Regions from separate parts of the Homo sapiens genome. Here region 1 is linked to region 2. Evidence: promoter capture Hi-C in 16 types of primary human blood cells and fetal thymus (Javierre and others, 2016). All regions are on one chromosome and are shown on one strand. Each heading gives the region's core, a stretch centred on a gene start or on the middle of the fragment in contact. The rest is flanking DNA. Distances are from core to core; before and after follow the strand shown.

The links. The method cuts DNA at HindIII sites, captures the fragments that hold promoters and counts their contacts. A CHiCAGO score of 5 or more calls a contact.
Region 1: a contact is called between a fragment that was not itself captured here and the fragment with the promoter of TMEM151B in region 2, in 1 of 17 cell types (naive B cells). The highest score is 5.1, in naive B cells.

What each region holds. Positions count from the first base shown.
Region 1 is chr6:43,761,113-43,766,666 of GRCh38, forward strand. No RefSeq gene overlaps it. Among named protein-coding and RNA genes, the nearest start is that of VEGFA, 6.3 kb to the right of the region's middle. RefSeq lists enhancers at 1-174, 3,660-4,161. The HindIII fragment of the contact is 1,063 bases long and covers 1,673-2,735 here.
Region 2 is chr6:44,268,332-44,273,892 of GRCh38, forward strand. TMEM151B (transmembrane protein 151B) reads left to right here and starts at 2,119. Exons shown (of 3, transcript NM_001137560.2): 1 at 2,119-2,546; 2 at 4,735-5,175. The coding sequence starts at 2,412. The HindIII fragment of the contact is 13,529 bases long and covers 1-5,561 here.

The sequences.
Region 1 (5,554 bases), core at 954-3,453, 510 kb before region 2:
GGCTACGGTCAGAGTTGGTGAAGGGCAGATTCACCGTGCCTCCCTCTGTCCTCCTTAAGACCTCTGGTCATGCCAGGGTCTTATGGAGGGGGCTTGGTGCTCCGCACTGTATTTGTTGCTCTCTCTGGAGTTGCTGTACCAACTCTCCTGGCATCCCGACAGGCAGGAGTATGTCCCATAGCCACAGAAATGCCCTTTTTGCAGGTTCTTCCTAGTTCTTGGAGGGCTAGAAGGAACTGAGGGGATGTGAAGAGCATCTTTCCTCCTAGCTTGTTCCCCACTGCCCAGGCTTGCTCCCCGACAGTGAATGGGAAGTGGGGAGCAGTCACCTTCCCAGGGGGCTCCAGAAAGCTGAGGACAGAGTAGCTAAGCTCACAGAGGAGCACTTAGTCAATGGGACTGACCCAGGAGGGCCCCGGGACAATGGGGCTAGGCAGAAAGGAGCAAGAAAGAAGGAGGCAAGGAGGGATGGAGACATCTGAGGAAAGACAGAGAAGGAAGGGAAAAGGAAATGCTCTGTTCACCCATAACTGTCCATGATCTGGACACTTGGGGTTGGAATTCCACCCCAGAGCTGGGGCTTGCCTTGTCTACCATGTTTTCAACAGTGTCTAGGTCCCATGAGTCCACCGCCTCAGGCCTGGCCTCTGGAATTGAAGGCCTGGTGAGGTACCTGCTATGTTGGGTGTGGGCTACACTTATGCATGAAGATTAGTGGGGAGTCCTGGCCTGGCCTTTCCAAGAGAGGAGGAGGTAGGGAGGCGTGCAGACCAGGGACCCAGACAGGCCTCATTCTCAGCAGGGAGCTGCACATTCCAGCCTAGAGTCAAGAGCGGACTGGGGCAGGGCAGACATTCACCTGGTGTACCCCAGCACGCCTCCTGATTGATTGGTAAATAGCTGTTGTTCCAGTCCTTGAGTTCCCCCTGTGCCTCTCTGGCCACCCCAGTCCCTTACTTGGTCCCCTGGACCTCTCCACCATCCAGAAATTGAGGTTTATGTCTGGCTTGGCATACGCCGTCAGCTCTATGTGAACTGTGCCTGAGCCATAGCAGGTGTTAAATGTTTTGGCCATCATCCTGAGCTCCGCAGGGGCCTTGTGCCCCACAGCTGGAGCTGACTGCGACCAGGTCCTGGAACTTGGAGAAGCTGGCAGCAGGCACAGCAGCTCTGAGCATGCCCTGCCTCACTTCTCCTGATGCTTCCAGCTGTGTTCTGGAAGGAGATGGGTCTGGATAAGCAGGCTGGCATGCAGGGAGATGTAGGCGGGACCATCTCTCCAGGAGACCCCAGTAGGGAATGGTTTAGCTGTGGCCTCTGCAGGGCACTGCCTGGAGTAAGGGAGTGCTGAGCCCCTCTAGGGAAGGAGGAGCAAACAACAGATCCCTGGGTCAGCTGCTGACACACTCCTATGCACGCGGCATCTAGTTCTAGCACCTCCTCTCTGGCACTGCCTGGCTCCCCACCCAGCCAGTCAGCTCTTAGAGGCAGAAGCCCAGTGTATCCCAAAGGTGCCTGGCTCAGTGCTGGGCCCCGATTAAATGATGAAGTGGCCTGGGGAGGTAGAAAGAGCCCCAGGCTGTGAGTTGAGTGATCTGGGTTGAGGTCTTGACTCTATGCAGCGCTCCGGCTTTGGACAACTCTGGGCTTCCTTCTGCTCCTCTGGCCAGTAAGCTTCTTTAGCAGTGGAAACTTTTCCTCAAATGAAATTCCAAGTGAGGGGCCAATAAATGAAGCAGATAAAACTGCATGTACTGTGTTTGCCCACTCCCACACCTTCCTGCTACCTGTCCCATCTCTGAGGACCCTCAAGACTCCTAGGAGCACAGTCTGATGTTCTCCTGACATGGATATCCTCTGACTAATTGCCTGCTTCCCTGAATATCTCGAGGCTATTGGGCCAGGCTGATCCTGGAAGCTGAGGGGAGGCCTCCCCACTCCTCATGCCCTGTACTTCTGGGTCTGGGAAAGCAGGGAGTATGGTGGGACTTTGAATCCAAAGTCCCTGTACTTTCCACTGCCCTACCTAGATGTCCCTGTACCTCCTGTAAAATCAGCATAGAGCCTGGTGCCTGGTAGTCCCTACAAATATTCACAAATTGGAGCTTAGCTCAGCTCTCAGGGGGCCAATCAGGGGGCCAATCATTAACTGGCTTTATCTTTGTGAACCATCCTGGGGGGCCCAGGTCATCGCCCCAGCTTCCAGCCCAGGCCCAGGGGGCTGCTGGGGGAAGGGGCCCTTCTTGCTGGGAGGTAGGGGGCGCCTTGGGTCCCTGCCTCTTTTTTTTCCTGGGACTTCCCCGAAGGAACTCACATTGCAGTCAACTCAGTGACAACCTAGTTACATAGTTGCTTCAAATAAAGACTAAAGCAGGATCCAAGCCAACAGATCCCCCAACCCCTAGTCATCTTTGGCACGCATTATGTAATTTCTTGCTTTTCTTTTTTTTTAACCAGGGGTGGGGTAAACCCATTTCCCTATTTGTTTCTGTTTTACTTTAGCCAGATGATAGTGGGTTTGCATTCTCTAAGAGTTTGCTCACGAATGGGGGTGGGAACAGGAGACAGGGAAGGGAAAAACATTTATATGATACCTACTCTGGGCAAGGAGCTTAGCTGATGTTTGCTGTTTCCATATATTTCCCTACAACCCTGGGAGGTAAGAACCATGAACCTCATTTTACAGATGAGGAAACTGAGGCTCAGACAAGATAAGTGAATTGTCCAAGTCTCAAAGCTTGGAAGTGTTGAACCAAGATCAAACCCAGCCTGTCTGGCTTTTTCCATTACTCGCTATGGGGGTGGTGGGGTGGAGAAAGGGGAGTGGGTGGGTGGCTGAGGCTTTTCACAGTGAGGGTTCATCAAGCTGGTGTCTTTCCTGAAAGGACAGAGGTCTGGCATCTCAGGTAACAGAGGAAGCGGTTCCCTACCTGCTGGGATTTGAGGGGTTCATAAGAACTGCTTCTCCCTTCCATCACTTGGTGCTGAGCCCCAGATTTCACCACTAGTGCTAGATTTCTTTGAGTTAAGCACTGCCCTCTCCAAGAGGCTTTTAAAACACACAGGCCCTGGAAGATGTGACATTTGGTATCAGTCATCTCATCTGGAGTGTTTGAGGGAGATGTTACAGGCTCACAGAGCCTCAGAGCTTAGGGAGTGGAACCTCATGCTTTACCCAGGAGAAGCCTGAGGTCCAGCAAGGGGAGCTGACTCGGCCAAGGTCACACAGCATGCAACAGACTCTGGAAATTTTTTTTTTTTTTTAGACGGAGTCTCGCTTTGTCGCCCAGGCTGGAGTGCAGTGGTGCCATCTTGGCTTACTTGCCTCCTGGGTTTAAGTGATTCTCCTGCCTCAGCCTCCCAAGTAGTTGGTACTATAGGCATGCACAACCACGCCTGGCTAACTTTTGTATTTTTAGTAGAGACAGGGTTTCACCATGTTGGCCAGGCTGATCTTGAACTCCTGACCTCAGGTGATCTGCCCATCTCGGCCTCCCAAAGTGCTGAGATTACAGACGTGAGCCACCACACCCAGCCAGACTCAGGACTTTTTTGCCCAGTGCTGTTTCGAAGTCGCCACATGCCTGTGACAGGTAGACAGGAGGGCTCTGGGTACCAGGTAATGAAGTGAGGGATTAAAGCTGGAGGAAATGTATCTTTCTGCTTTATGCCTTGGCCCAGCTGAGTGGCCCTGTGCTCGTCACAGGCTGGTGTCCTCTGCTCTCCTCCCCTCACTCCTGGGGCAAGCAACAGTGGTGTTCCATGTGTGAGCTGGACCTACCACTAGTGTTGGCTTGTTTAAATTCTCTGACAGAGACAAACTGTCCCGGGGGGCGGGGAAGGCAGTGTGGAGCTCACCCCCTGAGGGAGCAGCATTGTCTCTGTGGGCTTTGGCTGGGAATGTTTCTGAAGACGCCCTAATCCCTTGCCCTGCCTAGCCTCAAAGTCTCTATCACTCAGAGGAGTACTGGGAGGGCTCAGTGTGAGCCATCAGAACCTTCCAGGGTATCTTCCCTTGCTTGTTCTCTTTGCGCAGTCCACTTGGTTTGCTAAACTCCTGCTCTTCCATCAAGACCCAACTCAAGGCCAGGCACGGTGGCTCACGCCTGTAATCCCAGCACTCTGGGAGGCAGAGGTGGGCCGATCACTTGAGGTCAGGAGTTCGAGACCAGCCTGGGCAACATGGTGAAACACCATCTCTACTAAAAACACAAAAATTAGCCAGGTGTGGTGGCAGGCACCTGCAGTCCCAGCTACTCCGGAGGCTGAGGCAGGAGAATTGCTCGAACCTGGGAGGCAGGGGTTGCAGTGAGCCGACATGGCGCCACTGCACTCCAGTCTGGGCGACAGAGTGAGACCCTATCTCAAAAAAAAAAAAAAAAAAAAAAGACCCAACTCAAGTATCATCTCCAGGAAGCCTTCCCCTACTCCCAGCAATTAAATGCTCCTCAGAGAATTCCCATTTTTGGTTTACTCTTTGGTTTACCTCCAGACAGGAAGCCCCCACTGACACTGTTGTAGTCCCAGGGTGCAACACAAAGCAGAGATCACAAGCTGAGTTTAATAATTGCTTGTGGAATACATGTCCCAAGCCACCTCCTGCAGGAAGCCCTTCCAGATGCCCATTCTAGCCAGTCTGGCTCTTTGCTTCCATACCTTCACAACACTTGTGCCTCCCCCAGGGCCTCTTTCTCATCTTGCTTTCTGGGGCAGCTGTGTGCACATTTGTCTGTGTGCAGCAACTCTCTAAGGCAGGGATTTTTACTCCTATTTTTGATGAGGGGAGCTGTGGCTCAGAGAGGTTGAATAACCTAAGGCCACACAGTGAGTGGCAGAGCCAGGAATGTGACTTGGGTCCATTTGAATCCAAAGTCCCTGTACTTTCCACTGCCCTACCTAGATGTCCCTGTACCTCCTATAAAATCAGCATGGAGCCTGGTGCCTGGTAGTCCCTACAAATATTCACAAATTGGAGCTTAGCTCAGCTCTCAGGCAAGGCCCAGGTCAAAAGGGCAGATACAGCTTTGGGACCTTAGTTGCCACCACATGCCATACCTTCTTCCCAGCAGAAGGACTCCCTCCAAGACAGGGTAGGGGTGGAGGATGTGAACAGGGGCAGAAATGGGCATGTTTTGGGGTCAGACTTGGAGGAATAGCAGAGATTGGAGTGTCAGAAGGTGAGCATGCCTGGGGGTGTTGGGGAGATGCAATTCATCAGGGACAGCTTAGTGTCAGGGGATTAGACTGGGGCCCATGAAGGAGAGGCAGAGGCTGATGGGCCTAGGGGTGGTGTGGGTAGGTGAGCTTCCCCAGACAGTGACTCTGCCCTGCCCTCTCTCCAGCTAGGTCCTCTTCCCCATTCCTTCCCCCTTTCCTGACTGGATCCTCTTGGGAGAGTTACCCTCCTTGGCTTCCTCTGCTCCAATCTTTTTATCAGTTGGCCATCATTACTTATCATTACCTCAAGTCAAACCTCCAGATCCACATGGGGCTAGGACATTGGCACTGGACCAAAGAGGCCCTTTCCTTTGCTTTCTCTTTGTCTTTTTAATGC
Region 2 (5,561 bases), core at 869-3,368:
AGGCCACAGCATGGCTAGGGACCTGACCTCGCCTCCTCAGCTCCAGTCTTCTCTGAGGCTGGGCCCCTCGTCTTTCTCTCTGTTGTTTTCTGGTTCCCTTTGTGCCCCCACTCCCCACCTCCACCCACCCCAGCTAGGCTCATCTTCAGGAAACAGGCCTGGTTTCCATGGTGACCAGCCGGTCAGCTGGCTCCTTCCACCGCCCCCTCCTTCACCCCCCTTTCTTGTAGCTTCCAGGGAAGGGTACTGTGTGTGAATGGAGAAGGCAGGGGTAGCCTTTTGTCTCTTGGGAGCTCTAGCATTGGCCAAAAAGAGCTAAACTGTCCCTCCTCCAAAGCCCTTTGAAGTGGAGACAGGAAGGCAGTGGGGGTGGGTGTCAAGAGGAAGATTATGGTGCCTAAATGGGGAGCACGAAAGGATCCTCTGTGGGTTTGGAAAGGCCAAGGTTAGGGGCTCTGCTCTCTGTGGGGGAAGGGGTTGAAACTGGAACAAGAGGGGCTGGAGTTAGCTGTGAGGCCAGCTTCCCAAAAAGCATGGGCAGGAGATGCTGGAATGAACCACCAAGTGAGATTCTGCCTCTGCCAAGGGAGTGAACCAGACCCCCGCCTCTTCTGGACAGCCGCCTTCCTCTGGGCAGGGAGAATGGACCCATCAACCTGGAGAGGACCATGCAGGCTGGATAGCTCTAAGCAATAGGTGGACAGAGAGCCACCTTCACCTCACCTGGAAAGGGAAGAGTAGTAAAATGAAGGCAGGGCCAGGAGTGGGACTAGAGGGGTGGGAGCAGTGGCTCTCCTGTCCCCAACAAGGGGAAGGAACATCCTGGGCAGATCAGTGTGTTTGTACCCTATCCCCCAAAATCAGACATCGAGGCTTTGCCCCAAACTAACTTCCTACCCACAAATATTCCCCATAGATTTTGAGTGGGAAAGATCTGAATTCTAGGACTAGCTCTGTGAGTGCTAGCAGGTGACCTTGAGTAAGCCATTCACTCTCCCTCTGCCTTGGTTCCCTGTGAGTAATTGGGGAGAACAGTTACTGTATGTCAAAGACTCTAATGACACATAGTAGGATTCCACAGTGACTGTGTATGCACAAGATTGATCATGCATGGCTTTTATTATATTCTTCATAATGGTTGTTTTTCATGTTCTTTTCTCCCCATTAGACTTTGTGCTCCTTGCAGGAAGGAAACTGTGTTTCATTTCTGTACTGGGCACACAATAGGTACCCAACACCTGTTTACTGAATGGAGACATCCAGAAATGAATGAATGAATAAATGTCAGGGTCCTTCCTGCTGTGCCAGGGGATACAGGGAAAAGCAGTGTGGGGTGGATGGCCTGAAAGGATAGGCTGCCTGCAGTGGCTCAGCCTGGCTTGCTTCCTACACCTACAAGTCAGAGCCTTAGAAATTGTCCAGTCAACTTCCTCACTGCACAGATGAAGAAATTAAGGCTCAGAGACAGGAAGGCACTTGCCCAAGGTCACATAACTCCTTAATGACAGATACAGAATTCAGAATTAGAACTCAGGTTTCCTGCCCTCCAGCCTAGGGTATTGCACACACTTCACTGCTTCTCTGGAGCTGTTCTTTTAGGGAAGAAAGATGGTTCAGTGAAGGCCGGTTCCAATGCCCTCCCCTCTGCCCTCTGTTAGTCCTTTCCCACATCTAGCTTCAATCTCTTCCCTTTCCCCCTATTCCATTCCTCTGGAAGTCTAGCTTCTGCCTTAACCCTTCACCACGAAACTGGGAGTAAGGATCTTCCCTAGGGTTCCAAGAATCAATTTCCTCTCCCCACTCCTCTGCCCTGGGAACTTGGGGGAACCAGAGATGTGTGTGTGTGTGGGGGGGTGCTGTTGGTTGAACCTCGGGCACCGAGTCCACGGAGAACAGATGGAGAGGGGTTGCGGCACAGATTCTCCCAGGATAGGAGCGCGGGAGGGAGGTGCAGTGAGCAGGGCTGGGAGCGGGGAAGAGGTGTGGGGAGTCCCTGTTGCTTTACCCCTTCGGGGGGTGGTTATTAGGTAGGCTTGGGAAGGCGGAGTTTGGGGGGCTGGGGGCGGGGCTCGGCTGCGCTGGCAGGAAAGGGGGGGCGCGCTGGCTCCAGCTCGGCTCAGACAAAAGGCGGCGGCGGGAGCGGGCGGGAGGCGGAGCGGCGCCGCGAGGGCCTCAAGGTGACACCCGCCCCCGGCCCCGGCCCCCCCCGGCCCGGCCCCCCAGCCTGCCTCCCACCCTCAGCCCCCAGCCCCTTACTCCCGGTGCCCTTTCCGGGCCCCCTCCCCCGGCGGGGGGTGGGGAGCAGCGAGGGCCCCGCCCCCTCCCGTCCTCTCCCCAGGGCCCGCGCAGGATGCCCCCGGCCCCTGGCAGCCCCCCGGGAGGTCCTGAGCTCGACGCGCCCCCTCTACGCCATGTCCCCCCCTGGCTCGGCCGCGGGAGAGAGCGCCGCCGGCGGCGGCGGCGGCGGTGGCGGCCCCGGGGTCTCGGAGGAGCTCACGGCGGCGGCGGCAGCGGCGGCGGCGGACGAGGGCCCCGCCCGAGAGGAGGTGAGAGTCTAGGGCGCCCCTTCCCCGGGCGCGGCCGCAGCCTGGCCCCCCATCCCCCATCGCACGCGTCCCCCGCTGGTTCCGCCGCAGCGCGGCCGGCGCCCCGCACCCCGAGCCGGCCGCTGCAGCCGCAGTCCGCGCCGCCGCCCCCACCCGGCGGCCGGAGCTGTCCGCGGTGCCGGGGAAGGGGCCGCGCCGGGGGCGGGGCTCAGGGGTCCCGGGCAGGGGGAGGGGCCTAGGGGCGGAGCCTCGCGGATCCTGGGCTTATGAGAGTGGGGGCTATGCTCTACCGGGGTGGGGACGGTGGCGGGGATCCTGTCTCACAGAGGAGGATGCTACCTTGAAGGCCAGGAAGGGCGGCTTGTACGGGCTACAGAACGAGGAGGGTACCATGGGGAAGTGGTGGTGGTACCTGATCTGGGACCCTAAGGAGGTCAGATGTGTACGGGGGGTCCCGCCTGTGGTCATTGGGAGTGTGTGTGTGTGTGTGTGGGGGGGGGTGTGCACCTCTCTCTCACGAGGCTCCTGCTGCTTCCTCATATCCCTAGTTGGGGTCCCTAGTACTCAGTCCTCTGAACCTGAAGACAAAGAGACGGAGGAAAGTACCAGGAGCACCCCCACTCCAGCCTCCCATGCACACTTGTGCACACGCATGCACCCTGTACTAGGGCAGAGGCACACAAGCGGGGATGGGCCTGCAGGTAAAGCCCCTTTCAGAGGTACCCACATGGGGACAAGCACATAACCAGGTAGGCACACGAAGGGGCCCGTATGTTCATACCTCCTAAGGACAAGGCTCCCCGAAAGGCACATGTACCCTAATCTCCTTGTCCACATGTACTGTGTGCTATTTCCTAGCTCGCCTAACTATCCATACTTCTAGATCCAGGGACCGATGCCTATTACTGTACCCTTCTTTTCCACTCTTTTCCTCTCTTTCCTGGCTGGCCTCTAGGTCAGGCCTGAGGAATTGAGGGGGTAAGTCAGGATCCCAGCAGGAGGTTGTGTGTGTGTGTGTGTGTGTGTGTGTGGTGGGGGATGGGTTCCTAAAGCTAGACAGCACAGAGGAGGGGTGGGAAAACAGAGGCCACTACAAGAAATTAAACTCAACACTCAATTAGGATGTGGCTGCTGGGGGCCAGCACCATGGTAGGCACCTAGGATGCAAAGAGAATGAAGCATGGGCCCTCAGGAGTACCCAGTGTAGTGGGGAGCCAGACATGTAAACAACTCCTGGGCCAACCCTGGGACAGAATGTGCCAGGAGCTTTAACAGACAGGCTCCAGGAGAGTACCAAAAATAATTTTCTCTTGATAAATTGCTGGGCTTCAAACGTTGTCCTCGCTACCCCAGTCCCACATCCCCTATGCCTGTCCTCTCCTCAGCCACATGCCTCTGCCCTTCTGGATACCTCCTCCTGGACTGCCTGCCGCTCAGGGACCCCAGCCCCCTCCCTCCCATCCTAGGACAAAGGGAAGGATGTCAGGGTGCAGGAGGGAGACTCACAGGGGAACCAGGGTCCAGAACATGGGGAATGAGACTGGGCCTGGGGTTCTCTGGAGGCCCTTATCCAAAGGACGTGTTAGGCTAATTGTGAGGGTTAGGGAGGTGGATGGGTCAGAGGGGAGTAGCTCCTCTAGAACCTAGGACTGAAAAAAATCTGGAAGTGAGGGCCCCACTTGTTAAGTGGGGAAGTGATGTCAGTGGGTCCCTCCCCCTTTTCTAGAGGACCTGGAAGGGGTCTGGGCTGGGGACCTTCCTTCGCTGATGCCTGTCTGTCTGTCCTCCCCTGTCTTCCCTGTCCACATCTTCTGTTTCATTGCCATTTTTGTGTTTGTCTTCGGATGCTCTCTGGGTACCATCCTATCCATCTGTGTTTGCTGCCTGGGCCTCTATCTCTGGCTCTGATCCTTCTCTGCCTCTTGGGGTGTCTCTCTCTGCACTCTCCTGTACTGGCATTCCGGTCCCCTTTCCTGTCCTCTGGCTTGCTCTGTGTCACTTCTGTTTCTACCTCTGGCCCCTGGCTCCCATCTTGGTCTCACCTTTTCTCTCCATATCCCTGTTTCTCTCTGCCTGTTATCTCTGGTGCTGGCCTCTGCCCCTCCATCCCCGTATCCATCTCTGTGCTGGGTCCTGCCTGCTCTCACTTCCCACTCATCTTGGCCCCTCTCCCTGCCCACCTGAGCAGCAGCGTCCCATCCAGCCCTCTTTCACCAAGTCCCTCTGCCGTGAGTCCCACTGGAAGTGCCTCCTGCTCTCGCTGCTCATGTACGGCTGCCTGGGGGCAGTGGCCTGGTGCCACGTCACCACAGTGACGCGCCTCACCTTCAGCAGCGCCTACCAGGGCAACAGCCTCATGTACCATGACAGCCCCTGCTCCAACGGCTATGTCTACATCCCCCTGGCCTTCCTGCTCATGTTGTACGCCGTCTACCTGGTGGAGTGTTGGCACTGCCAAGCCCGCCATGAGCTGCAGCACCGTGTTGATGTGAGCAGTGTGCGGGAACGTGTGGGCCGCATGCAGCAAGCCACGCCCTGCATCTGGTGGAAGGCCATCAGCTACCACTATGTCCGCCGCACCCGCCAGGTCACCAGATACCGCAATGGAGACGCCTATACCACCACCCAGGTGAGGAGCTGGTGGGGAGTGCAGGACATTCAACATGGGAGGTGGCACTTACGTGCTGCCTCACTCCCTCCCCACCTCCCTGGGGGGAAGGTGGGAGGAGCAAAAGGCAGCAGTGAGCTCCCATGAGCATTGCAACAGCAGGGCAATAGCAACAACCATAATCATAACAGCAAAAACCGACCAGGAGCCAGGCTCTGCTCTAAGTATTTTACACACATCAAATCATTTATTTAACCCTCATAACAACCCTATGATGTAGGCAGGTATTCCCATTTTGCAGATGAGGAAACTGAGGCCTGGAGAGTTTAAGTAATGTGTCTAAGGTCAAATAGGCAGTATGTGGTGGAGATGAGACTTGAACTCAATCAATCTGGCTCCAGGATCTC